Linked DNA regions of Homo sapiens: regions 1, 2, 3, 4 and 5 are each linked to region 6. The links are contacts of gene promoters, found by promoter capture Hi-C in blood cells and fetal thymus (Javierre and others, 2016). All regions are on one chromosome and are shown on one strand. The core of a region is centred on a gene start or on the middle of the fragment in contact, and the rest is flanking DNA. Distances in the headings are between cores, read along the strand shown. Region 1 overlaps UBE2D1 (ubiquitin conjugating enzyme E2 D1). Region 2 overlaps LOC112268068 (a long non-coding RNA gene). Region 3 has its middle 7.4 kb from the start of TFAM. Region 4 overlaps IPMK (inositol polyphosphate multikinase). Region 5 has its middle 5.0 kb from the start of ARID5B. Region 6 holds the start of CCDC6 (coiled-coil domain containing 6).

Region 1 (4,480 bases), core at 778-3,277, 1.6 Mb after region 6:
ATTGCCTAGACCAGGGAGCCTGTGATACTTGACTTGAAAGGCCAAGAAGGTGTAGGCATAGATGGATCACACCAACTCAAAAGGGCCAGGTGGTACAAACACCCTGTAATTTTTGTCATATATCCCTCTTTTCAATGTCCTCTGCTAACACTGTAGCTTAGACCCTCTTTGGATCTCACTTAAGTGCAATATCTTAACTTACCTACTGTCCTCCTATTTTTCTACCTATACACTGCTGCCAAAATCATCTTCTTGAAGAGCCATGTCAAACCTCTTCGATGTTTTCCATTCACCTTCATGTAAGACTTATAAGTCCTTAAAATGACTTGCCAGACCTTCCAAGACGTGACTTCTTTCTAGCGTCATATCTGCAACACTTTTCCCCAGTGCTCTCTGCACCAGCCATGACTTTTAATCTTGCCTTTAGTTGCAAACATGGCTTCCTTTTCGGCAGAAGATACTTAATCACCTCCCCTCCCCAAAACACACTTTCTCCCTCATTCTTTCATTTTATCTACTTTACTTTTACTTTCTTGTCTCATCTTAAACATCATTGCCTTCAGGTTTTCCCTGAAACCTTCAATGGGTCCCTGCTATATTCCTAGAATACTCCATGCATCCCTTTTCATGACATTAATCAAAATTATAATGACAAACAGTAAACAATCTTGAGTTTGATGAGGGCAAGGATGCCTATGATTAAGAGTGTTCATTCCGGCCGGGTATGGTGGCTCACGCCTGTAATCCCAGCACTTCGGGAGTCTGAGGCGGGCAGATCATTTGAGGTCAGGGGTTCGAGACCAGCCTGACCAACATGGTGAAACCCAGTCTCTACTAAAAAATACAAAAATTAGCCGGGCATGGTGGTGCACGCCTGTAGTCCCAGCTACTTGGGAGGCTGAGGCAGGAAAATTGCTTGAACCTGGGAGGCAGAGGTTGCAGTGAGCAAAGATTGTACCACTGCACTCCAGCCTGGGTGACAGAGTGAGACTCCGTCTAAAAAAAAAAAAAAAAAAAGTATTAGCTCCTATTACTCAAAAACCTTCAATGGCTTCCCCAATCTTCTGCATTAAGTACATATTTCTCAGCACAGGCCTTCAAGGTTGTCTACAATATGAAGCTTTATGGTCTACTGTTTCTGAACGATTCCCAAAAGCAGGATTATCTGCTCCTTCCCAAATAAGCCAAGCATATTCTAGTGTCTTCATTTCCGTAGCTTCCTCTACAAGCCTGGCTCCCCTAAGTCTTTCAAAATGCTATCCAGTCTTCCCAACCTATATCAAATTCCATCTTCTCCACAGTTTTTCCTGATTTTCCCAAATAAATTTGGCCTCTCCCATCTTTGACTCCCTTCCTGTTTAAATATATTGTATTTTCTGTTTGGTACTTTCCTAAATCCATCTAGTTGTTACAGGACTTTTCTTACACTTATTAATTTTAAATTTCTTAGATAATGGTGATACCTGTTTTTCTACATAACTAGCATCTCCTTACTGCATTTAATATATGCCTTGTATCAGAAGGTGTTTGATAAATGCATTAACTTGAATCTTTTGAGACAGGGTCTTGCTGTCATACAAGCTGAAGTGCAGTGGCACAATCACAGCTCACTGTAATCTTGAATTCCTGGGCTCAAGTGATCCTCCCACCTCAGCCTCCCAAGTAGCTGAGACTACAGGCACGTGCCACGATGCTGAGCTATTTTTTAATTTTTTTTTTAAAATAAATGGGATCTCACTATGTTGCCCAGGATGGTCTCAAACTCCTGGGCTCAAGTGTTTCTTCTGCCTCGGTCTCCCAAAGTTCTGGGATTACAGGCATGAGCCACGTGCCCAGCACTGAATCTTAAAAATCTATTACATAGGCTGGGCACCATGGCTCTCACCTGTAATCCCAGCACTTTGGGAGGCCAAGGCGGGTGGATCACTTGAAGTCAGGAGTTCGAGACCAGCCTGGACAACATGGCAAAACCCTGTCTCTATTAAAAATACAAAAATTAGCCAGGCATGGTAGTGCACACCTGTAGACCCAGCTACTCAGGGGGCTGAGACATGAGAATCCCCTAAACGCAGGAGGTGGAGGTTGCAGTGAGCTGAGATCATGCCACTGCAGTCCAGCCTGGGTGACAGAGCCAGACTTTGTCATTAAAAAAAAAAAAAACAAAAAAACTATTACCTATAAGGCAGCTGTGCAGCTGTGTATGGCAGTTGTCTAAATATGTGGATAAAACAATCTTAAGTACAAAAGCTAACAAATAGAGAAAAGCTAAATGGAATTAGAGAACCACGTTATGTTACCAGTGCAATAATAGAAATACATTTTATTTGCATCATAAATAATTGCTCTTTAGTTAGAGAATAAGATTTATTGACCTTATACATTAAGAGATGTCAACATTTATTTCAAATCTGATATTTCAAAGTAAATGGAATTTTAAGTCAAGTCTAATATAGCTCCATAGCACAGTGCCAAAGCTCAGTGTTTGTTTTTGTGATCACTGTTGTTTGCTGCAAAAAAAAAAACAGCAAATACATTATTTAGGTTTGCCTAAAATTATGATTCAGAAGAGATGACAGAAAGTATCAAGTTCAATCCATTAAGTTTCCAAGTGAGGAGTATAAAGACTGAGTCTCCTGGCCAAGGTCACAAAGCCAAACTAGGACAAAGGGACAGACCATCTGACTTCTACTCCAGCACTCTTCCCACCCCAATTCAATACTCACCTCAACACTGTAACAGCTAGAGCACATTATTTTCAACCAACACTGAAGCAAACAATGCTCCAGTACTGTATTAAGGCCATTTGCACATTTTTAGCTATGCTCCAGAGAAACAAAAGTGTGATAAGTGAAGGAATGAGAAGGAATTCTTATCTTTTCTCAGGAGCTTATATCATATAAAAGGTTAGAAACGAATACTATTTCATAAGCTTTCAGGAGCGTTGTGTTTAAAGACACTCTGAGAGTCAAGAAAAACTTTACAGGAAATTATACACAACTTAAATAAATAGAATTTTCACATAAAATATGCAAATGGAGCATTTTGAGTGCTCCATTATCAAAACTTACTATTTACTTTACAGTAACCAAAAAAAGATGGAAGAAAAAAGAGAGAAAACCTAGCTGCCTATTTATTAAAACGTGTGTAAAACATGAACATGCCTACCAATACCTACCAAATATTTGTTATTAAATATTGCTTCTTACAGCTCTATACCTAATAACTGGCATATAGTGGGCACTTGAGTGTTTCATAATAAATTCTCTACTCTCTGTTAGTATCATCCAGTATTATTCTTGAATATTATGGTTGTACATCAGTCACTAAAATGCTGCTACTTGTAGAAGAAAACAATGCATACGGTCTGTATCAAATGCAAACGTTTCCAAGGCTAGAACAGTTTACATTATGTGTATATGTGTATCAATATATTTGTGTGTCTCTGTGTATGTGTATATGTATTCATTTGCTCTCCCTATATATGTATACATGTATATGTATGGTTGTATGGCATGTATTTTTAACATTAATTTTACCTAAGGATCTTATGTTATGGAACAGTGATTTTCCAGCTTTCCTTACAGCAATTTATAATATGAAAAAGATTTTACATTACAACCTAGTACACACACACACACTAAAACAAATTTCATGAAACAACACCCTTACTATATGCAAAGCACTAATATTTTCTATTCCATTTTAAAAAGTGGATGTTTATTATTCACTAAACTGTTTGGAAACTCATAAAAGAGAAAAAAAAAGATACTGGGAAGGTGTACACCTTAGTTTGGCATCCATTTCTTAGAAATAACCTACAGTCAATAGATACCAACTGGAAAATACCAAAATGAAGTCTACAAACTATTAACCATCATTCATTCAAAAGTGCTGTTGAGCACCTGAAAAGGCTGGGTCATAAAACAAGTCCCCACTTGGGAGGCTAAGGCAGGTGGATCACCTGAGGTCAGAAGTTTAAGACCAGCCTGACCAACATGGTGAAACCTTGTCTCTACTAAAAATACAAAAAATTAGCTGGGTGTGGTGGTGGGCGCCTGTAATCCCAGCTACTTGGGAGACTGAGGCAGGAGAATTGCTTGAACCCAGGAAGCAGAGGTTGCAGTGAGCCGAGATCGCGCCACTGTACTCCAGCCTGGGCGACAAGAGCAAACTTCATCTCAAAAAAAAAAAAACAAAAAAAAAACCAAAAAAAACAAGTACCCACAATTTAAAAGGAGTCAAATAATAATAGAATTTGTTCTCTGACCATAATGGAATTAGAAATCAACAACAGAAAGCTATCTGTAAAATCTCCAAACATATGGCAAATAAATAACGTATTTCTAAATAATCCAAGGGTCAAAGAAGAGATAAAAAGGAAAACTAGAAAATATCTTTAAATTTAAGTGAAAACAAAATACAGCAAAATTTGGGAGAAGCAAAAACACAAGCCAGAGATTTCCTGGTTTAAGAGAAGAGA
Region 2 (4,334 bases), core at 197-2,696, 1.6 Mb after region 6:
GTCTTATTTTGAACAGCTGTCTGGATTGTTGTCTCACAGGTTTTGGCATTATGTGACCCCCACATCCCCAATTCTGTCCTGCTACAGGCCGTAAGATTTCAGGGGGACCATTCCCAGGGTGGTACCTGTGGTTGATATATGAACTTCCTTGTCCCCCACAAATCTCCACAGGGTTCAAACCCAGTGTTGAATGAGTCTCTGTTTGAAATTAGATTAGAACCACCACTTGGGAAGGGCAAAGAGCAGACAGCCTCAACAGTGGTGGAGCCAACCATGAACTTCTCAGGAGTGACCTGTGCTTCCTTCAAGGCAGTTTCTGTTATGTGTATCCTTCTAAGACCTGCATTTCTTTCAAGACTGATCCTGTCCATTTTGTAGCCCATTTTTCTTCATTAACAATAAAACCAATTGTGAGCACCAAAGAGCAAGCAGAAGAGTGTTTAAACATTTTTTCTTTCTTTGATTAATGAAGTACGAGAAAAAAAAATCCCTCTGTGGTTCTATTTAGTCATAATTTATTTTCATAACGTTCTGAGGGGCCCTGGGAAGTTAGACCCCTTCTTAAACAGGGCAGCTGCATCCCCCCATTCTTCAGCAAAGCACCCAGTGGACAGGCTCTTGATGGGCCACTCTGAGGCAGAGGGGGATTTCAACAAAGACCCCGGAAGTTAGGACCGGGTTGTGGGAGCTGGGACAAGGTTGTGGTGAGGGCAGAAATGTGGATGTGGCCCGTTCCCTCTCATCCCCAGCTGTAACTGGAGCAGTTCAGTATGTGTCTGTTTTTCTAAAGTATCTGAATGGACTTGGGTGAGCTTCCTCATATAAAAATTAGTTTAATAGACCTACCATGTATGATCAACGGAAACAGAAGGTAATGTGTAATGCACTTAGCACAATATGGGGAACATGGAGCTTGTTCAGAAAAATGGGAGCTATTATTGTTCTTGAATTCCACATTAGAATTTATTAAAAGAATGGCTTCCAACACTTGAAAAAAAAGTTTGGAAATCACTGATTTCGCTCATGGCCTTTGTTAACACAAAGAAAAAAAACATGTTTTGATAAATTATATGGAAAGTCTGGCCTGTAATCCCAGCACTTTGGGGGGCCGAGGAGGGCAGATCCCTTGAAGCCAGGAGATCAAGACCAGCCTGGGCAACATGGTGAAACCCTATCTCTACACACACACACATATATGTATATATATTAGCCAAGTGTGGTGGTGCATGCCTGTAATCCCAGCTACTCGGGAGGCTGAGGCATGAGAAATGCTTGAACCCAGGAGGTAGAGGTTGCAGTGAGCCTAAATCATGCCACTGCACTCTAACCTGGGTGACAGAGCAAGACTCTGTCAAAAAAAAAAAAAAAAGAAAGTAAAAGAAAGAAAAAAGAAAGAAAGAAAGAAAGAAAGAGAGGGAGGGAGGGAGGAAGGAAGGAAGAAAGGAAGGTCTATTATTTAATTTATATAAAATTTTTAAAAATGATGAAAAAATAGCATTTTTATCCCATGATTTATTATCTAAAATGAAAAATGTTTCATGGAAGAATATCCCTAATAAACTCATTTCAAAGTTTTGATATAAAAAAGATTAAGGCAGTGGTAATCCTAGAGCAGAAAGTTACATGTAGAGAGAATTTTATTCCCATAATAGATGTGTTTTACTCTTTTTCAGGGTTCCTTCTTCTCAGATATATATTTTTTTCTTTTTTACAATTCCATTTAACAGTTTTCTCCAGCCAGACAAGGTGGCACACGCCTGTAATCCCAGCACTTTGGGAGGCTGAGGTGGGCAGATCACTTGAGGCCAGGAGTTCAATATGGCCAATATGGTGAAACCCTGTCTTTATTAAAAATACAAAATATGAGCTGGGCATGGTGGTGTGTGCCTGTAGATCCAGCTACTCCAGAGGCTGGGGTGGGAGAATTTCTTGAACCTGGGAGACAGAGGTTACAGTGAGCCAAGAGTGAGTGCATGCCATTGCACTCCAGCCTGGATGACAGAGCGAGACTTCATCTCAAACAAAACAAAACAAAACAAACAAACAAACAACAGTTAAAAAAAAAAAAAAAAAAAAAAAAAAACCAGCTTTCTCCTATCTTGTGACCCTTCACAAGCATGTTTAGAAATTTAGTTCCTTTCTTCTTTGATATGAATTGTCATTTTAGGCTATGATATAAATATTCTGGATGGAGTCTTTTGACTGTATTGCTCTAATCAATTTAGTTCTATATTATAACAATTGCACATTTTGCAGCTGATATGCCATCTAAAAGTAAACATTATTCTTTTTTTTTTTTTTTTTTGAGATGGAGTATCGCTCTGTAGCCCAGGCTGGAGTGAGTGGTGCGGTCTCGGCTGACTGCCACCTTGCCTACCGGGTTCAAGTGATTCTCTTGCCTCAGCCTCCCAAGTAGCTGGAACTACAGGCGCATGCCACAATACCTGGCTAATTTTTTGTATTTTTAGTAGAGACGAGGTTTCACTGTGTTAGCCAGGATGGTCTTGATCTCCTGACCTCGTGATCTGCCTGCCTCGGCCTCCCAAAGTGCTGGGATTACAGGCATGAGCCACCGCTCCCTGCAAGACTATACTTTAAAGCAATAAATGAGCACCTCACTCTCTTAACTTTTTAAGTAATCTAGAACAATATATTGTCATTTACTGAGATTGATGTTTGTAATTTTACTCCTGAGATTAAACAGTAATAAACATGTTAATGCTATAAACATTGTTAAACAAGTCTACATGACACAGCTCTTTAACAAACCTATTTCCAAGTGCTCTGAATCATGGTTGGTTGTACTTTTCTGCAATGCCTCACAGAATCTAATTACAGGCACTAAATGCAAAGCCAACTTTATAATCAATTAAGAGTGATGGGGACTCCAAAGCCAGCTGGCTTAGGAAGACCTTTATATATACTGTATAATATAATCTTGTGAAAAGGCAGAAAGATATTTACACTTTACTGACACAGGAAGTTCGGTGGTTGGGCTCACCCTAGGGATACAATATGTGTTCCTAATTCCTTCCTGTATGCCTTTCTACTTTTTGGAAACTTTCTCCCAAATCCTTCTCCTTCCTTTCCCATTACTTTCCCATTCCCCTGCAGCCAGGAGTGAGAGACTTTACTAAACCCCAAGGATGATAAATACAGCATTCCTTATCCTTTAAAAATCTGTGTCTTTAGCCTTAAACAGGAAGGAAATTCTGACATAGGATGCACCATGGATGAATTTTGAGGACATTATGCTAAATGAAATAAACTGGCCACAGAATGACTTAGTCTGTATTATTCCACTTATATGAGGTTTCTGGAGTAGTCAAATTCACAGAAACAGGAAGTACAATGGTGGTTTCCAGGGTCTAAGGGTCACGGCAGGGCATGGGGAGTTGTTTAATCGGTATAGAGTTTCAGTTTTGCAAGATGAAAAAGTTCTGGATACTGGTTGCATAACAATGTGACTATACTTACCACGACTGAGCTGTACACTTAGAAATGGTCAAGGTGGTACATTTTGTTATGTGCTGTTTTGCTACAATTAAAAAAAAAATGTCATTAAAAAGACAGACAAATGTTGGAGAGGATGTGGAAAAACTGGAACCCTTATCCACTGCTGGTGGGAATACAAAATGTAAGTACAACAACTTTGGAAAAACACTTTGGCAACTTCTTTAAAAGTTAAACATAAGCTGGGTGTGGTGTCATGCACCTGTAATCCCAGCTAATTGGGAGGCTGAGGCAGAAGGATTGCTTGAGGCCAGGAATTTGAGACCAGCCTGAGCAACATATCAAGTACCTTATCTCAAAAACAAACAAAACACATATATACAAAAGCTAAACCAAAATGTAACCATATGACTCAACAATTTCACACTTAGGAACCTATCAATGAGAAATAAAACATATTTCTACACAAATACTATGCACATGAATATTCATAGCTGATTATTTCATCAATAGATAAAAACTGAACATAACCCAAATGTCAATTAACTGGTGAATAGATAAATCGAATGTGGTATATCTACACAATGGGATATTATTAAGCAATAAAAAGGACAAATTACTGACGCATGTTAAAACATGGATGAACATCAAAAACATTACACCAAGTGAAAAAAAAAGCCAGATGCAAAAGACCTACATATTGTATGATTTCATTTATATGAAATGCCCAGCAAAGGCAAATTTATAAAGACCCAAATAAAGCAGATCAGTGTTTGCCTAGGCTTGGGAATAAAAGTGGGGATTAACTACAAAAACGCACAAAATAACTTTTTGGGGTGGTGTAGATGTTTCAAAACTGGATGGATGGTGGTAATGGTTGT
Region 3 (4,967 bases), core at 56-2,555, 1.5 Mb after region 6:
TTAATTTATATATTATCTTAGTCTTCTTGTAAAACACAATAGTAATATTCATCTTTTAGTGATAATTTTTTAAAAACTCAGTTCCTAGGAGAGGCCAATACTGTGCCAGACACTGTGCTAAGTTCTAAAAGTACATATGGTTGGGTGCAGTGGCTCACGGGGGAGGATCACTTGAGCCCAGGAATTCGAGACCAGCCTAAGCAACACAGTGAGACCCCCGTCTCCATAAAATAAATAAATAATACATACAAATACGATTAAGGCCCGATCATCCATTTAAATTTACCTGGGAAAGCAGGGGATGGCTTCATAGAGTAGGTGACATTTGAACTGTTTTTTCGAGTGGGGAAAGGTTGAGATGCCTTCCAGAAAAGGAAAACAGTATGTGCAAGTCACAGATATTTATGAGGGCATGGTATATGTGAAAAGGAGTGGTATGAAACAAACCTCTTTAAATTTGAGTGGGGTTGGGTTGTAAAGGACTATGTATAATTTAAGTTTGTTAGGAAAATATAGCCAAACAACTTTTTAGGCAGGTTACAGGCACAATTAAGTTGTTTTTATAAAAATCCCTTTAGTAGGAGCACAGAGAATGATGGGTGTGAGAAGACTGTTGCTGTAATCCAGGAAAGAGGGTCTGAGATTCTGAAGTAACATGGTGCCATGGCTCATACTCCAAAGGCCTAAGTATAATGGGCAAGATTCCATTGACTGGTTAAGTACATAGAACACAAGAATGACTTTAAGGATTCTACCTTGATAGACTATTCCAATTCCAATTGCATACTCTGCTAAGTGAATATCCCCAAGCAAATGCTTTCATTATATCATTTGGCTGGTTAAAAACTTACACACTTCTTACTTGCTATCGAACCAAGATTTCATATCCAGCAGATCTATGTTCTCCACCTAATCTTTTCTCTCATTCATTGCACATGGACTGCCAGTGCCATTCTCACTTATTTCTACTTTATTACCTTTGTTTGGCTTCTCCTGTTTTCATTAATGCCTTCCCTACTTAAATATGCCAATTAGAACCCTAAGTATCTTCCAAAGCCTAGTTCATTCATTTGTTTAGTGAACAACTATTTAAGTACTTGTGTGCCAGACACTGTAGATCCCAGCAAGCATAAAGATGCACACTGGGAATCATGGTAACATTGATGAGAACTATTATTACCTCAACAGCTAAGAAAAGGAGTGACATAAAAATTAGAGATTTAAAGGATAGGGAAAGAGGGCATTTTGAGCGGAATGTACAATTTGACCAAAATCTGAGAATGAGAAGCACCATTCTATACTGGAAGTGGGGAGAGGTTGGGATCCAGTGAGAACTGCAGGCAGTTTGGTGGGAGTCGGGAATGGCAGATGAGACTGGAGATGCAAGCTAAAATTTACCACAAGAGTCTTAAGGACTTGATACTTTATTCTGTTGGTTCATGATTTAAACAAGGGGAAAGAACCTGAGAACCCAAAGGGTCCTGATATACGTATCAGATAAAAATGAGCTTCACTGTTTGAAGTTATAAGTGGGTCCAAGTTAAAGTCAGGGTCCAAAGGCTAAACCATTAGCATCTCCCTTCTTTTTTCTGTAGGTCCCTCTGCAAAACCACTGCTGAGTCTGTGGGGAACTATTTAAAAATGTTAAAGCTGATAACCCACAAGATCAGATTTGGGGTTAGAATACTTTCACACTTCTGTGGATGATGGACTTGAGGGTAGGGAAAAGATAGGATGTTGTGGTAGTACCATCAAAAAATGAAGAGGTAGAGATTTCTGCTTCAAGAAATTCCACTGAGAATCAGAAGAGCTGCATAAAATAAAACCTTATAATTGAGAAAGTGTGAGAGAGCTGCAGAAGTCATGAGACTTTCAGAGGTGAGCTGAGTATCTGTGGTCATTTTTCTCCTGGAGTACAGGTTAGAGGCTGAGAATTTGGGCTTTATGCAGGCAGAGGAGCACTGCTGAAGGACAGAGTTTTTTGTGGTTGCACAGAGCTGGAGTGACAAAACTAGAGACTTAAGGAACCTCAACATACAACTAGTTTCCCCCTCAAGTAAGAGCCAAAGTTTTAATTTTGTTGGGTAGGAGGCTAAAGAGCTAAATTTCTGAAAAAAAATATAGTGTAATTTTCTTCTCTTAGTATTGAGAAGACAACAGCCTGACAGAGGAAGGAGACCCCAAAGAACAGCCTAGAAGCAAAAAGACTGAAGTTGTGAACTAAACTAACACCAATGATTTACATCCTCTCTTCTCCCTGCAGCACTTGTTGATTTGGATGTGGCTAAAGGCTCAGGATTCGAGCTTGATCCCTTATGACTGTTCATGACATTAGAACCAGTAGTAGTCTGGTGGTTGCATACAGCAAATGTAACATAATTACAGATTTGAAGGGCTTTAGAGACAGCGGGTTGCTTGCTCAAGATGTTTGCCAAAGTATGAATCTCCCAGGAGCAATAGGCTAAAACTGTGAATCAAAAATACTGAAAAGCAAGGTGGAATTTCCTATAGCCTGTCTGTGCTGAGAAACAAAGACAGTTGAAGAGGGTTATGCACTATGAACAAAGATAAACTAGACACAGTTTGGGTCTAATAAAACTGCAAGCCAGCCTCAACTAAGCACAGGTCCTGATTGCATTAAAGTGGTCATCTTCACACTCTATTTGACTAGCCGAGCACACGATGTAACCTCTCTGGTGGAAGAAAACATCATGAGTTTTCACAGGTTTTTTTTGCACAATGTCTGGCATTCAATAAAAACAGACCCACAGGTAACTCAGATACTAGAGTTAGCAAAGACTTAAATAACTGTGATTAAGAACTTCAAAAACTAGAGAAAAATATGGACAAAAAATAAAACAATTTAGGAACTCATCAAAAAACTAAAATATGTTTAAAAAATCAAATGGTAACTTAGAACTGAAAAATAAACCTGGAATTAACCATAATGTCTGAAATGGAGTTGATGGGTTTAAAAGCATATTGAAAAAGCAGGAGATAGGATTAATGAACTGGAAAAAAGGTCAATACAAAACTGATGCACAGAAGGACAAAGAGGGGAAAAAAGGAAAACACGGAAAATAGGTTTGAAAACATGTTGGATACAGTCAAAAGATCAAATATATATTTTTTATACTGGGGCCCTAAAGGGGAGAAATAGAATGGGGCAGAAGCAATATTCCATAAAATAATGGCTGAGATTTTCTAGAACTGATGAAAATATATCAACCCACAGATTCAAGAAGCTCTGTGAACCTCAAGCAGGATAAAGACAAAGAAAACTACACCTCGTAACACCGTCATAAAACTGCTAAAAATAAAAAAGATAATCTTAAAAGCAGTCAGAGAAAATAGGCATATTACTTTTAAAAAGGCAGTAAGACTAATAAGGCCAGGCGCGGTGGCTCACACCTGTAATCCCAGCACTTTGGGAGGCCAAGGCAGGTGGATCACGAGGTCAGGAGTTTGAGAACAGCCTGGCCAATATGGTGAAACCCCTTCTCTATTAAAAATACGAAAATTAGCCAGGTGTGGTGGCAGGCACCTGTAATCCCCAGCTACTCAGGCGGCTGAGGCAGAAGAATTGCTTGAACCCGGGAGGCAGAGGTTGCAGTGAGCCGATATCACACTACTACACTCCAGCCTGGGTAACAGAGCAAGACTCCGTCTCAAAAAAAAAAAAAAAAGACTAATAATAGCTGACCTTTCAATAAATTATGGAATCCAGAACACAATGGAATGACATCTTTAAATTGCTGAAAAGAAAATACCCATCCAGAATTCTATTCCCAGTAAAAATATCCTGTAAAAATGAAGGCAAAATAAAAACATTTCAGAAAAGCAAAACCAAGCGAGTATTTGTCACCAGAAGATGTACACTAAACAAAATTCTAAACGGAGTTGTTTAGTTAAAAGGTAAATGATCCCATATGGAAACAGGAAAGCAATGAATACTGGAAAAAGTAAAATCGGAGGTAGGTATAATGATACTGACATACAAAACATCAGTGTCTTGTGGAATTTCACATATATGTCAAATTAAAATACATGACAATAATAATACAGCAAAGGTGGGAAAGAGACAATGGAATCCAGGTGGTCTAAAGTTTTCACATTATAGGGAAAAATGGTACAAGCAATAATTCATATTAAACTATAATCAGAGATAGATCTTTTAATTTAGAGTAATCACATGCACAAAGAATGTCTAACAAGTTATCAGAGGGAAAGAAAATGATACTGTTATAAAAACTGAAAAACCCAAAAGAAGGAAAAAAGAAAGGTGAAAAAAATAAAACATGGTTAAGAAGAAAAAAAAACAAAAATGGGAACACAGTTGGTATAAACCCAACTATATCAGTAATTCCTTTAAATGCAAAAGAATGAAATTCTCTAATTGAAATACTAACATGGTCAGATTAGATAAAAACCAAATTAAATAGAACCCAACTTTGAAATGAGTACTGGAGACACACATTTAAAAAGGGACACAGAAAGATCAAAAATTAAAGAATAGAAAAAGATATACACTGCAAATACTAGCCAAAAGAAACCATACTAATATTAGATAAAGTGGAGTTTAAGGCAAAAGCATTAATACAGATAGAGACATTTCTTAATGTGATATCACAATTTTATGTGTGTGTGTAAGAGAGAGTATCCAAGAATATGATTTCAAAATATATAAGGCAAAAATAAAACAGACAATTTCACAATCATAATGGGAAACTTTTTAACGTATCTCCCTTAATGGCTGTGAGAACAAGCAAATAAAAATTATAAACACAATTAACAAACTTGATCTAATTAGCACATATAAACACTGAATCTAATAATAACAATCCATATTATTTTCAAATGTATATGATACATTTATCATAATTTCCATATGCTGGGCCATGAAGCAAGCTTCAGCAAATTTCAAAGAATTGAAACTATTCATATTATGTTTTCTGGCCATGGAGAAA
Region 4 (4,302 bases), core at 951-3,450, 1.6 Mb after region 6:
AACCTAATATTTGTTGAATTTAATTCTCAGATAGTTATACAATCCTGACTGTATTGTTAAGTAAAAGGATACTTGACTGATGATATATTCCCTATTTGTAAAATGGATAAGATGGTCACTAATTCAAAGTTCAACAGTTTTATTATGTTTCTCCACTGTCATAAGTCATGTACAGTTTACATCATTTAGATCATGCTTTGGTCTGTCAATTGAAATAATTCTCAGGATAAGCTTTGTTAAGGACGTTATGTTGGTATTTGTTTTGTTTTTAAATTTGTGTTACTATCAGTAAGTAACCAGAAATGTTCCATTTAGAATTATTTTACCTATTTCCAAAAAGGAGTTGTTGGCTTTGTTAGTTTAAAAATTAAACTCATGGAACTTGATAGAACAAAGGTGCTTGAACAGAAAAATAGATCTTGTTATATATGCTAAGTAACAAGCATATATTAGTAGTTCAGACATCCGTTATATTTTGTGTTCTTCACTGAAACCATATTTCATCAAAATACATTTAAATCTTAGTTCTAAGAATACAAAGTATTTTGTTTTTTAAACTGTAAAAATTGTATAGTACACGGATCTTTTAGGAAAAAAATTCAGTTTAAGTAGTGCCCTTCCCCCTACTCATTCTCCCAGGGGCAATCACTGGTAACTACTTCCTGTCTATCCTTTCAGGCCTTTGTTTCTGGGCACATACATAAACACATTAGCGCGGTTCTGTTTTTTTATACAAATAAATCTATCAGCAACTTTTCTCATTCTGTATTATATCATGTATTATACCTATATTTTTGCACTTACGGTATACTTTATTCTTTCTAAAAATTGTGTTCTACAATGTGGATGTATCACAATTTATTTAACTATTTCTGTAATCATAGATTTTTAGACTTTTCACCATTTGTTTGCTGTGATAAGTAATGTACTTATTAAACATTCTTGTATATAATAGCATACCTTGCACGTTGTGTACCTATCTCTGTAGGAAGTTTTCGCAAAAAAAAGATCAATATAAATTCCCAAAACTCACCAAAGTTAGCATAAAATTCTTTTAATATGTATCATTAAGTTCTTTAAAAAGTCCTTAAAGTTTTAAACAAATGATGGAAATCTGATATTTCTTGATCTGATGTAGGATGTAGAAATGGGGTAGTCTATAGGGAAAACAAGGATTTAAACTGATAATTGTTGTGGGGGAGAAAGACCTACAATTATCTTGGCTTAGTAGTCTCTTTTTATTAGATATCCTCTGAAACTAATTAACCTAAAATAATTTCAAGCCTACAGAAAAGTTGCAAGAACAATAGAAAAGTAACATTTTGCAAAATTTGTTTTATTATCTCTCAATGCAAATAATTTTTCTTAACTATTTGCAAGTAGGTTGCATACATTATGCCACTTTACATGTTAATACTAAAGTGTGTCTTCCTTAAGAACAAGGATATTCTCTTCTGTAGCCACAGCACATTGATCAACTATGGGAAATTTAACAGGGATATAATACTTTAATCTATAGTCCATAGTCTCACTTTGTCAACTGTTCCAATACTGTAATGTCTTTTATCACATTTGTTTTTCTCAGTACAGGATCTGGTCCAGAATCATTTATTGCAATTAGTTGTTATGTCTTTTAGTGTCCTTTCATTTGTAACATATCCTCAGCCTTTCCCTGTCCTTTATGACATTGTCATTTTGAAGAGTACAGGCCAGTTATTTTATGAAATGTTCTTTAATTTGGGTTTCTGATAGTTCCTTACGATGGGATTCAGATGATACTTTTCCAGCTGGAACATTGTGTAAGTGGAGGCCAACAATAGCTGCCCTTTGGTAGTGGATTATTTCTGGTTGTCTGATTCAAGTGTAGTCTGGCTTCTTCAGTATATCGTTTTGTTTGTTTGTTTTTTGAGACAGGCTCTTGCTGTGTCACCTAGGCTGGAGTGCAGTGGCGTGATGTAGTTCACTGCAGCCTCAAACTTCAGGGCTCAAGCAATCCTCCTGCCTCAGCCTCCTGAGTAGCCGGGAGTATAGGTGCACACCACTAGGCCAGGCTAATTTTTTTTTTTTTTAACGGAGTCTTGCTCTGTTGCCCAGGCTGGAGAACAGTGGCGCGGTCTTGACTCACTGCAACCTCCGCCTCCCAGGTTCAAGTGATTCTCGTGCCTCAGCCTCTTAAGTAGCTAGGATTACAGGAGTGCACCACCATGCCTGGCTAATTTTTGTATTTTTAGTAGAGACGGGGTTTTGCCATGTTGGCCAGGCTGGTCTTGAGCTCCTGGCCTCAGGTGATCCACCCACCTCTGCCTGCCAAAGTGCTGGGATTACAGGCATGAACCACTGCTGGGCCAGGCTAATTTTAAAATTTTTTGTAGAGATGGGATCTGGCTTTGTTGCCCAGGCTGGTCTTGAACTACTGGCTTCAAGTGATCCTTCTGCTTCAGCCTCCCAAAGTGCTAGGATTACAGGAATGAGTCACCATGCCTGGCTTCAGTATATAGTTAATGTTTTCTGTTCTACATTTAATAAGCTATATGTGAGGAGACACTTTACAGTCATGCAGCTATCTGGATTCTCATCAACTTCATCCCTAGATTTGGCATCTGTTGATTCTTGCCTGAAGCTGTGTTTATTCTGATAGTTACAAAATTGTGATTTTTTCCCCCCATTCTTTCACTCCCTCTGCTTTAACAGCTAGCATTCCAAGAAATAGCTCTTCCTTTACCCTTAAGTATTTATGTCCTTATTTATAATCAGTTTGCATCATGGATTCCTATTTGATAACATGTATCATTACCCATTATGGAACTTATTTATTGGACTTTAATCACATCTCAATGTTTTTAAAAAAGGAACTTATTTATTTTGTTGCTCAAATGGTCCCAAATTTGACCATTGAGAGCACTTCCTTTCTGTCATAACAGATTTTTTAGAATTATCTCATAACTTTCTTCCCCAGCCCTAGAGTCAACCATTTCTTCAAGGAGCCCTGGTTTCTTTTTAGTGGAAAATGGTATTTAGAAACCAAGATCTGTGTTACTAGGTATTGTCATAACTGTTGGAGTATCATTTCTTCCAGGACTTTTCAATGGACATGATTTTTAAAGTATGTATAAATATTTTAGAAATTATAATTTCATATTTCAAATTTCATTTAAACCCGAGTTCTTCCTTTCCCTTGATTCTAAATTTGTATTTCCCTTCTTCTGTAGTAAGAACCCTGGCTCCCAGTGATATTAATATGTTTATTCTTTTGCTTAATCTTACAATTTTCAGAATTTCTACACCCATACTACTTCAGAAAACAAGCCTAGAATAAAGAATTCAGGATGAGATTTTTTTATTTATTTATTATACTTTAAGTTCTGGGGTACATGTGCACAACGTGCAGGTTTGTTACATATGTATACATGTGCAGTGTTGGTTTGCTGCACTCGTTAACTAGTCATTTACATTAGGTATTTCTCCTAATGCTATCCCTCCCCCATCCCCCCAACCCCACGACAGGCCCCGGTGTGTGATGTTCCCTGCCCTGTGTCCAAGTGTTCTCGTTGTTCAGTTCCCACCTATGAGTGAGAACATGCGGTGTTTGGTTTTCTGTCCTTGCGATAGTTTGTTCAGAATGATGGTTTCCAGTTTCATCCATGTCGCTACAAAGGACATCAACTCATGAATTCAGGATGAGATTTTCTTATACTGAGGGTATAAACTGTGTTCAAAAATTACTTGGGGCTGGGCACGGTGGCTCATGCCTGTAATCCCAGCACTTTGGGAGGCCAAGGCCAGGAGGTTGAGACCAGCCTGGCCAACATGGCAAAACCCTGTCTCTACAAAAAATGCAAAAATTAGCCGGATGTGTTGGTGGCGCCTATAGTCCCAGCTACTCAGGAGGCTGAGGCAGGAGAATCACATGAACCTGGGAGCGGAGGTTGCAGTGAGCCGAGACTGTGCCACTGCACTCCAGCCTGGGTGACAGAGCAAGACTGTCTAAAAAAAAAAAAACAAACAAAAGTTAGTTGGATTAGGTTTTTTGTTTTTGGTTGTTATTTCTTTTTCTCCCTTTTCGCAGTAGTAGTATTCATTTGAAATACAGTTGGGTTCATTTGTTTCTGTTTAAATTCATCCCTGCTTCCTCAAATTTTGTTTGTTTGATTATATATTTGAAAGCTTATAACATTAACATGCTTCCAAAAAACAAAACTTTACAGAAAAGTATAATAAAAAATTTCACTCCCTTATCACTCCACCCCATCCACTCCTCAGCATCTCTTGTAGGTAATCAATTTCATTGTTTTCTGATTTACC
Region 5 (4,593 bases), core at 21-2,520, 2.0 Mb before region 6:
ATTTTTGAATATCCGCAGCCTTGTAATCAGATGAATGCTAAATTTCAAAACCGAATCACAGGGGTATCTTTCCCCCTCTTTTTACAGCACTGCCCCCACCCCCCGTGAACATAATAAATCTAATAAATCAAACCAATACTGTGAATGCCTTTTAAAATTACAGATCACAATAGTGTTTACCCCTCCCCCCCAAAAATCCCTCAATTTTACCTCTTCTTTAATGTGATGTTTGATAGGCACCTGTAAATTATCTGTGTAGCAAATATCCATACAAAGAAAGTTTCAATTAAGATAAGGAGATTGTATTGAAACAGTTCTTTGAAGTAATGTAGTTAATAGCCTGTTTGATTTCTGCTTGTGAGAGAGTAATAACGTGGATTCAAGGCTCCATCAATCACAGAGCAGATGTAAGACTTGAGACACCGACACCCAGGGGAATAGAGGCAAACTCCTGCAGTGCAGGGTCCCTGGGCTAATGTAAAGTAAATACTCATAAACAGATTGAATGTTGTAAGAAGACAATCCATTCAGGACAGTTATAATCATGAAAGCAACTGCTTTATTTATCTATAAAAAAGCTTGTAGCTGGAACTTGCTGTGTATAAAAGGTGGGAGGGAGAGTAGTATATGTTTATATGACCCACTACTTCTGGGCTCTTTCTTGTACTGAAACACAGAATCCGGTACCCACACACCTATATTCTTGCTGCTTTACTAGCCAAAAATCCAACTCTCTAAGTTAATCTCGTGTATTTACACGGTAAAAAATTAAAAATCATTCTTGCCCCTCAAGGGGATGGGAGAGCAGTAGACATTATTCAGTGTCTGTGAATCGCTTCATAAAGGATCAGGAGGATTAAGTTAGTTGCAAAAACCAGCAGTGACATAATTAGGCAGCTTGGACTATAATAAACAGGATCATAAAAAAAGAAAAAAAAGGAAAAGTACAGTTTGAAGAAAGAAGGCGACCATTTCGAAAATGCAAACCTCTCTGCGTACCCCTGGGCCTCCCCTCCCCCAAATTGCAAAAGACAACTGAAGCATTTTTGACCTTGGCTACAATAATACTTCATGTTTTAGCACTTTAGTCAGCATTTTATCTACTAATTGCTACACACTACCGCATGTGGCTCGAATCTGCCACTGCAGCTTTCTCTCATTGGTGAGCGAATTGCTTGATAAAGACTGGGAATTCAACCTGGCTGTTTCCTTTCTTGCTCCCCCTCAGCCATCCACCCCCCCACCCCTTTTCTTTCCTCTTCCAGCTAGAAGCCACTAATTTTCCCAGAAAATACCACATGGATGAGAATAGGGACAGTGAATTGTTCCCTGATCTCTCTCCACTGGTTAAAGCTCGGGTCACTTTTGCGATCCGGAGGCAAAACGGAGGCGGTGAAGGGGGGTAATGGGGACGAGGAATTAGGGGGACGAAGCGAGGGGCGAGTGGATTCTGGCCTGTTGGCGGACCTGATGCTAGGTGATTCTGAACGTGGGTCCCTTGCCCAGTCCATCGCTGGTTGGAAGTCTGTGGGGCTCCACGCTGCCCACCTGGGGACCTCGAGTTAGGCACGCTCTCCTGCTCTTGCTTGGTCAGTAAGTGGGGTTCGAAGGGGTAGCCCTGGAGTCTGCAGACTGATTCGTAAAGAACCAGCACTGTCTGAGGGTCAGCCACCGCCTGGTCCCATCCCCCTCTATGCCTGGCGCCATCGTGAGCGGCGGGGGCGGGTGGCGTTATTAATAAGGAGGCCTTGAGCAGAGCAGGCTCGCCAAGCCTTAGTGCAACAAGTCTATTGGTTTGAAGGAGGATCAACCGGGTTATACGGGTCATTGCTTTCCAGGAGACCTCTAGTGGTCAAAGGTTGAGCTACATCTCAAATTTGGGTCTATTCGTCGCCTGTCTCAAGAGCTGTGGTGGGGGTGGGACTCCAGCCCAGGTCCAGGTGGTAAAGGCTGGAAGCTTCAGAAGGATGGGTATGGGGACAGATTTCTCATGAACTTGGAGCCGGAGCCAAGAGAGACACAGGGAACTCGGAGCAAGTGATCCCCTGGGAAGGGTCATGTGATGCCCTTTGTGGGCACTGGAAGCCCCAAGTTCCCCTGCCCTCGATACAGATGGAGACTTCCTATCTCATCTTGATTTTCCTCCCGAGTCTGAGATTAATCAAATATTATGCAGGAAGTTGGATTAAATTTGCTCAAGCCTTTCCAGTTACAATAGCAATGCTGAGTCTGTTTATTTTTTCTAATTTGTTTGTAAATTAAAGCCAAGTCCCATTCCCTCACCCCAATCACAAATACACCCTAACACCCCTTAATTTTAACAATTTCATTGCCTTCAAGTGCCCTTGACATTTATGGGTTACTTAGTATAGAAATAACTAAGCTTTTTTTTTTTTTAATTGCCTGCACTGCGGGGTACATATATGACGTTTGGCTAAATTGTAATCTTGCCCCTCTATTCAGAATGCCACGGCATTCCATCTCAAATGGCAGGGTGCTGGAGGAAAGGGTAGTGGTGACTCAGGCTTTCAGACTCATTTGTGATCCACATATTAATAAATAATTTGATCAAATTTCCCCCCAGCATGGTATTAAAGAAATTCCTGGGAACACCTATCATAGGTCATACTCAAAACAGAGGTCCCAACCATCTGAGGTTATGAAAACATCTTGCCATACCTGATTTTTTTTTAAAGGAGACAAGAAAAAATGTACAGACATGGAGTCTTGGCTCCAATGGGGCACTCATATATTGCCTACTAAAATTTCTCTGTGCAGTTTCAAACGGACATTAATGATGCCTTGTATTTGGTGATTTACAACTTATAATTACTTGACAAGCATTAAGTAACTCATTACCTAGAAGCAGAGTGGGTACGGTAGGTAAATCACTAGACTGAAAGTCAAGGGGATCATTCTTCTCTGATTTGCTGTGTCTCCATGTCCATGACTATAATTATCTGCAGGACTCAAACCCTAATTCTGGCTTTGTCGGAATTTCTCAGTTATTGTGGCAGAATTATCCAGGCTGGTCATCTGTATAGAGGCAGCTGCCCTTGCTGGGGAGTCATTCAGACCCATGGAAGTGCCGGCAAGTCCCTTGACCGCCTCCACCTACATTTTGCCATGTCACAGACTGATAATTTTATGACTTGTTATTGCAGGTTGAAATATGTAAACGTGGTAATTCACTAAGGGTATAAGGAGATCTGTGTACTTCAGAAGAAAAATAATACCAAGAAAAACAGTGAGGTTGGTTCTGTTTTCATTTCCAATAAGCTTTGGCCAAAATAAAATTGGGTGGGCTTTCAACAAAGATAGTAGGGGACCAGATGAATTTCCCTCAGGGCTTAAACAACGCCCTTCTAGAGATGTGCTGGCACTAGTTCCCGCAGACTCCCTAGAGCTGATGATTACATTTTCAGAAATTTTGCAAGTCAGATGTCAAACACATCCACTATTGAACATTAAATTATATAAGCTCTCAAATAAATTATATTAGAAAACAATGGTAATATACCCTCAACACTCTAATTGTTTTACTATATTTAACTGTTATCTATACTCTGGAGGTTATTTATGTCTTTTGTATTTTTGTGGCCGCAATACAGTATCCTCAGAGGACTGGTTCCAGGACTCCTGGCAGATACCAAAATCTGTGGATGCTCAAGTCCCTTATATAAGATGGCATAGTATTTGAATATCACCTACTCACATCCCCCTTATACTTTAAATCATCATATTGTAATAACTAATATGATGTAAATGCTATGTAAACAGTTGTTATATTGTTTTATTTTTCACTTATTTTTATTTTTCACTTATTTCACTTATTTATATTTTTCACTTATTTTTATATTTATTTATTTATTTGTATTTTTTTGAGACAGTCTCATTGTGTTGCTCAGGCTGGAGGGTAGTGGTGAAATCTCTGGTCATTGCAACCTCCGCCTCCTGGGTTGCAGCGGTTCTCCCACCTCAGCATCCCGAGTAGTTGGGACTACAGGCGTGCGCCACCACACCTGGCTAATTTTTGTATTTTTTTGGTAGAGGCAGGGTTCCAACATGTCAGTCAGGCTGGTCTCAAACTCCCGACCTCAAGTGATCCACCTGCCTCGGCCTCCCAAATTGCTGGGGTTATAGGCGTGAGGCACCATGCCTGGCCTTTCTGAATATTTTAAATCTGCAGTTGGTTGAATCCTCAGATGCAGAACTTGTGGATATGGAGGGCCAACTCTACTATATAAGGGTGTGCTACTCCCCATCTCTTCCCAATTCACATCCATTGACATCCCATTGGTAGCTTGAAATAGGCCATGGTGGGGTATTTATACCGTGGAATTCAGCAAACATTACAAATCAGAGCTTGATTCATTGTTTTGTTGATTGGACTTGAGAAAGTGATGAAGACAATGTTAATACTGCAGATTGTGATGATTAATTTTATGTGTGAACTTGAGTGGGCCATGGGGTGCCCACATATTTGGTCAAACATTTTTCTAGGTATATCTGGGGGAGTGTTTTTGGATGAGATTAACGTTTGAATCACTAGACTGAGTAATGCAGACAAATGATATGCAAAGTAAACCCCCT
Region 6 (4,987 bases), core at 537-3,036:
TTTCAACCCTCAAGTGAGCTTTCCAGAATCCGTTTCCAATTTAACTCATTGTCTCATGTACTAGATCCCAAAAAAGTGAGAGAACTAAGTTTCAGTGCAAATTAAACTGGATCACTTGTAACAGAATGATTTAGATTGCCTATATGTTTCTCAAGAGCAAAGCCAAGCATTTCCTCCCTCCTGCTATACAAACAGTGACAGAGTTCAGAAGCCCTCCAGCACTAAGCTAAAAAATACCTGGGAGAAACTGGGGTTTAGTTGCTGTTGGCATTTAAGCTGTTTGCTAAAAGCAGCCATCTTGGTGAAAGATGATGTCATTTGGAACACTTGGTGTTTTCGAGTTTATTCTGAGGTGCCAGTTTCCAAGAGCCATTGAATCACCGTTTAATCATGAGATCAAATTTAGGTTTAAAGATAATGAGGGAGTGGGAATAAGAATCATTCTTCTTTCTTCCTAACACTTTAGAAATCTTTCAGAAAGTTCAACCCAACAGAAAAAAAAATTACACTTTTTTTTCTATTTTCTATTACCATGTGTTTGTTGTAATGTTAACTAAGCGTGGGTAATAAAACTAGTCTGGTCAGTTTCACTTTCCAATTTTTATACATAAGTGAAAGCTGTTTTGTGTCAACAGGGCAAAGTGTTTAGAATCATCTCACCTGCTGGGCCAATTTCCTGCAAGCCTTTCTTTGGGAAGAGGAAGGGGGAATAAAAGTTTTTGATTTTTAATTTCTTAAACTGCAAAGCTAGAACCATGAATTAGACCGCATTACAGTAATTACTGTTTTATTTTTACATGCTAAAGTTTTCTAGGAGTGAGCAAGAGGATAGCAAAGACGGGTGATGTTGCACTCCCACTCAATCATTACTATTTGTATAGCATAATGTTATGTCCGCAGTTACTTTGGAAAATTGGCACTTAAAGAGGTGTTTCAATCTTCTACTAAAAGTGTTTCGCCTTCCTTTTTTTTTTTCTTCATTAGGTAAATGTTACTGTCTTAATCCTACTACGAGACATGTGCTGGAAATGTTTGCAAAATGCAAAGAGAAAAAGAAAAAAACAGTTGCACCTTGTTTAAACAATTGAGCGCAGTGTGGTTTATGAGGTTATTAAAGGAGATGTGTGTCTCTCCTGCAAATTCTTACTTAACAAGGTTAACCTGTGGCTGCTGTTGTTTCATCCTCCTCGGCCTCTTGTAGAGGAACTTTGTTCTCTTAGGTTTATCCAAGCCTTCCTAGTCAAAAACACCTTGCTTTTGAGAATATAAAACTGCGTGTATGTGTGAAACAGATAGAGGGAGACACGCGCACACACAGTCGGCGGAAGATGGGGCCACAACACGGTAGAGGATGGGTGCCGGAGCCCGGCTGACCTTTCCACGTGTCCCCGGCACCTGCGAGGCTGGTGGGGCATCAGGTTTCCTTTTTCTCGGGGCGGGCGCGAGCCCGGAAGAGGCTGGGCGGCCGTGGGCTTAGATCAGGGGGCTCGGAGGCCCTCCCTTGGAACACGTGTGGCTGGCGAGCTGGTGGTGCGGGGGCAGTCCTTGGCTTTCCCGCACCCGCAGTGCCTGCGCGTTCCCAGCCCGCCCGTGGTCACCAGACGGCGGCGGGCGGGTCCCGGAGCTTTCAGCCAGCTTTGCTGGGCGGCCTAGGGAGCGCGCCCAGCCCGGCTGGAGCGAGCCCCAGTGCAATACTGCCCAAGCCCGGGCGGGGTCTCTGTTCTCTGGCAGAGGAGGTCCCTTGGCAGCGGGAAGCGCCCTCTCTTTCTCTCGCCGCCGCTCCGAGTCTGCGCCCTGGTGCCAGGCGCTCAGCTCGGCGCTCCCCTGTGCTCGCCCGGCGCCCACTCATTCGCAGCCCGGCCTTCGTCGCCGCCGCCTCCCTGCTGCTCCTCCTCCTTTCCCCAGCCCGCCGCGGCCATGGCGGACAGCGCCAGCGAGAGCGACACGGACGGGGCGGGGGGCAACAGCAGCAGCTCGGCCGCCATGCAGTCGTCCTGCTCGTCGACCTCGGGCGGCGGCGGTGGCGGCGGGGGAGGCGGCGGCGGTGGGAAGTCGGGGGGCATTGTCATCTCGCCGTTCCGCCTGGAGGAGCTCACCAACCGCCTGGCCTCGCTGCAGCAAGAGAACAAGGTGCTGAAGATAGAGCTGGAGACCTACAAACTGAAGTGCAAGGCACTGCAGGAGGAGAACCGCGACCTGCGCAAAGCCAGCGTGACCATCGTGAGTGCCCCCCGGGGACGCGCCGCAGCGCCGACCTCCGCCCGCCCCGGGAGGGGCTGCACCCGAATCCAGCCACCCCCCAAGTCTTCCCCAGATTCCCGGGGACCCTCTGAGAGCACACTCCCTGCGGGGACCTGCTGGCTTCCGGGAGGAGAGGGAGGTATCCCTTCGGGGCCACGCGGGTCTGTCCTCCTCGGGGGTCTGAGGACCCTTGCGCGGTGCGGGGGAAGGCTACTGTGGCAACCATTCATGGTCCCTTTTAGCCTCTGGAGAGGAGGCCCCTCCGGGGCTGGGCTGGAGGCTGGCGGCGTGGCTGGGGGGCGGGGTAGGACTTTTTTCAGCCCTAGCATGTTTGAGGGGTGCGTCCAGAATCTGGGGAACCCCAGTCCTGGAAGAGGGAGGAAGCTGGGATCTCTTACTGGGTCCTGGCTCGGAGTGTGGGGGTTCGCAGCTGGACTGGGCACTAAGCTGGCATCTGGACTGCGCTAGCTGGATCGCCCGGGGAGGGGGCGGGAGAGAGTGGCCGGGAATCCGGGAAGTGGAGTTTTCTGGCCGGGATCGAGAGGGAAGGGCGGGTACGGCGCTAATGCTCCCACCTCTGTTGGAAGCTCTTTGCTTTGGGTTGGGAGGGTGGACGGTTTACAGCGAGGAGAGTGCAGCATCCACGCCTGGACAGGGCTGGGGCCGAAACCAGGGGAAGGGTAGTGACTGTGACTCCCTGGCTGAGCCAGAGGTACGTGTGTTTGCTTCATTCGTGGAGTGGTTAGAAGTATCTTGCTTCTGAGTCTAGATACTGGAGAACAGGCCATCTGTTCTGTTTCTACCTGTCCCCTGGAGGCTGCCCAGAAACGGGTAAGCTTGGGTCTGTAGGTCTCTCTCCTGGTGTGGCAGGCGTTTAGAAAGGCCCCTATAGCAGTGATGAGGCGAAACGTAACTAGAAAAAGTACACTGTGTACTCTCACCTATCATCCCTGCCAGCTCACCACATCATTAACATGAAGGATCCCCACACAGACAACTGTATTCAAATCAAAAGTTCCCCAGCCAGAAGCAGAGAAGATGATGTCAAGAAATCAAGGGGGATAAATGGCCATAGCTGCTGCAAAATAGCGGATTAGGCTGAACTTTGAAATGAAGAAAAAGGGATGAATTTGGGGATAGAGGGTCACACCTTGGAAATGGAGCAAGTTTAGGATGCCCCTTGTGCCAGGAAATGCCTTCGGTGGAGGAGGCTGTGTATATGTGTGCGCACGCGTGTGTACACCCCCAGTGCTGGCTCATACATGAGAACTAGATGGCATTCTTAATTTGTGTAGAAAGCAAGTTGCAAGTTAAGTGTGATCAGTAGCCTAAATAGCAGTTGATTGTAAAAAGAAACTTTTCATGCTCAAATCCAATTTTGGAGAATGGAATTGGAGCAACTTTCATGTGAGATGGTAAAGTTCTTGAAGTGCCCTTTTGGTAGGAAGGTGGGGGGCGGGGAATTTGCAGAGGCAGCCACTTCCAAGCCTCCTATGCAGCTTTCTTCGCTGACAGAGATGTCTTTGCTGAGTGGGGGTTAAGAAGAGAGGGAAGTTGTTGGAGGCAGTTTAAGGTTTGAGTTAGTAAATGAGAGGGTTAGTCTCTTGGAGACTGTGAGCCATGGAAAGTAGTAAGACTTGCATGAAGCAAAATAGCCTTTTGCATGCAGTGGGCAATTCAGGCTGGTTTTGTTTGGGAGGGAGGAATGAGGGATGCAGAGACTATGAAAGGGTTATCTGTTTGACACTTAGACCGTATTATAACTAGGTTTGTAAATTGTGCTTAAACATGTTGGCTTTGCAGGAACAAATGTGTTCATTCCCGGTGTTTAAGATCAGAGGCCTTCTGAGTACTTGGCTAGAAGAGCGTATAAGGTGGTGGCTTGCTTTCTTAGCACTTACCCTTAACTACACTGACATCCAACCGAATATACTTTGTGAAATGTCGTGTGGTGTTAATGAGTAAAGTTAACATTGTTTTAGATGACACTGCACAAGTACCAGAAGCCTCTCAGTTCTTCTTTAATTTCTGACTAATATATTCAGGGAGACACATAAAAAAGTGCTTGTGGTTCGCCTGGTTTCCTAATACTTGGCAGTTGTTACTAAGGAGCTGAATGATAAATGCAGAAAACAGATTCCTTCAAGATTTTGCAGGTTTTGTTAACTGACCTAGGATCCAGATTCTGTGGTGGTACGTTTGACCTCTCAGGTATGTAATGCGGGAGGAGAAATTTATGTGACTCCATGAAATGGGCCTGTGAATGTAGAGTCCATTGAACAACACTTAAGTAGTTTATGTCAAGGTTAAGCTGTACAATCCCTGACATCGCTGACTTAAGCATTACCCTTGCTAGTGGCAGGCTAGGAAGTTTCTGATAATTAAGTGAAGGCCTTGTTAGATTTTTCACTATTTTAGTTAATTTGAAGGGAAGATGGTACCATAATTCTGGTAATTGCCTTCCTGGCTCTTTTTAGTTCTAATTATGATATTAACGTTCATGTCCTTGGGCACTAAAGGTGATTGTGGCCTTCTTTTTCCTTGAGCAAGTTCAGGAAGACACATTGCCTTTTTGCCACACCCTGGGGAAGAGCCGGGCTCTTTTTTTCCCCCGACTTGTTTTGTTTTTTAATAGACTTTATTTTTTTAGAGCACTTTTATCTTCACGTAACACTGAACATAAAGTACAGAGATTTCCCACGTAACCCCTGCCTTCACACGGGCACAGCCTCCTCCACCATCAACA

Evidence for each region. Contacts are between HindIII fragments. The CHiCAGO score rates a contact against its expected background, and 5 or more counts as called.
Region 1: a fragment that was not itself captured here is called in contact with the fragment with the promoter of CCDC6 in region 6 in 1 of 17 cell types (M0 macrophages); the score reaches 5.5 in M0 macrophages.
Region 2: a contact is called between a fragment that was not itself captured here and the fragment with the promoter of CCDC6 in region 6, in 1 of 17 cell types (M1 macrophages). The highest score is 7.1, in M1 macrophages.
Region 3: a contact is called between a fragment that was not itself captured here and the fragment with the promoter of CCDC6 in region 6, in 3 of 17 cell types (fetal thymus, non-activated CD4 T cells and naive CD8 T cells). The highest score is 6.2, in fetal thymus.
Region 4: a fragment that was not itself captured here is called in contact with the fragment with the promoter of CCDC6 in region 6 in 10 of 17 cell types (naive CD8 T cells, fetal thymus, naive CD4 T cells and 7 more); the score reaches 16.5 in naive CD8 T cells.
Region 5: a contact is called between a fragment that was not itself captured here and the fragment with the promoter of CCDC6 in region 6, in 1 of 17 cell types (fetal thymus). The highest score is 5.9, in fetal thymus.

Annotation. Positions count from the first base shown.
Region 1 is chr10:58,342,548-58,347,027 of GRCh38, reverse strand. The region is part of intron 1 of UBE2D1 (ubiquitin conjugating enzyme E2 D1); the gene reads right to left. Among named protein-coding and RNA genes, the nearest start is that of UBE2D1, 9.8 kb to the right of the region's middle. The HindIII fragment of the contact is 1,809 bases long and covers 1,123-2,931 here.
Region 2 is chr10:58,321,716-58,326,049 of GRCh38, reverse strand. It overlaps LOC112268068 (a long non-coding RNA gene), which reads left to right. Exons shown (of 1, transcript NR_158219.1): 1 at 1-422. Among named protein-coding and RNA genes, the nearest start is that of UBE2D1, 11 kb to the left of the region's middle. The HindIII fragment of the contact is 6,040 bases long and covers 1-4,334 here.
Region 3 is chr10:58,375,571-58,380,537 of GRCh38, reverse strand. No RefSeq gene overlaps it. Among named protein-coding and RNA genes, the nearest start is that of TFAM, 7.4 kb to the left of the region's middle. The HindIII fragment of the contact is 7,211 bases long and covers 1-4,910 here.
Region 4 is chr10:58,261,289-58,265,590 of GRCh38, reverse strand. All of the region lies in intron 1 of IPMK (inositol polyphosphate multikinase), which reads left to right. Among named protein-coding and RNA genes, the nearest start is that of IPMK, 4.5 kb to the left of the region's middle. The HindIII fragment of the contact is 3,933 bases long and covers 234-4,166 here.
Region 5 is chr10:61,894,381-61,898,973 of GRCh38, reverse strand. No RefSeq gene overlaps it. Among named protein-coding and RNA genes, the nearest start is that of ARID5B, 5.0 kb to the left of the region's middle. RefSeq lists an enhancer at 1,967-2,136. The HindIII fragment of the contact is 1,379 bases long and covers 581-1,959 here.
Region 6 is chr10:59,903,355-59,908,341 of GRCh38, reverse strand. It overlaps CCDC6 (coiled-coil domain containing 6), which reads left to right and starts at 1,786. Exons shown (of 9, transcript NM_005436.5): 1 at 1,786-2,220. The coding sequence starts at 1,918. RefSeq lists enhancers at 1-151, 2,844-3,073 and silencers at 1,197-1,491, 1,674-2,013, 2,044-2,323. The HindIII fragment of the contact is 3,234 bases long and covers 1-3,079 here.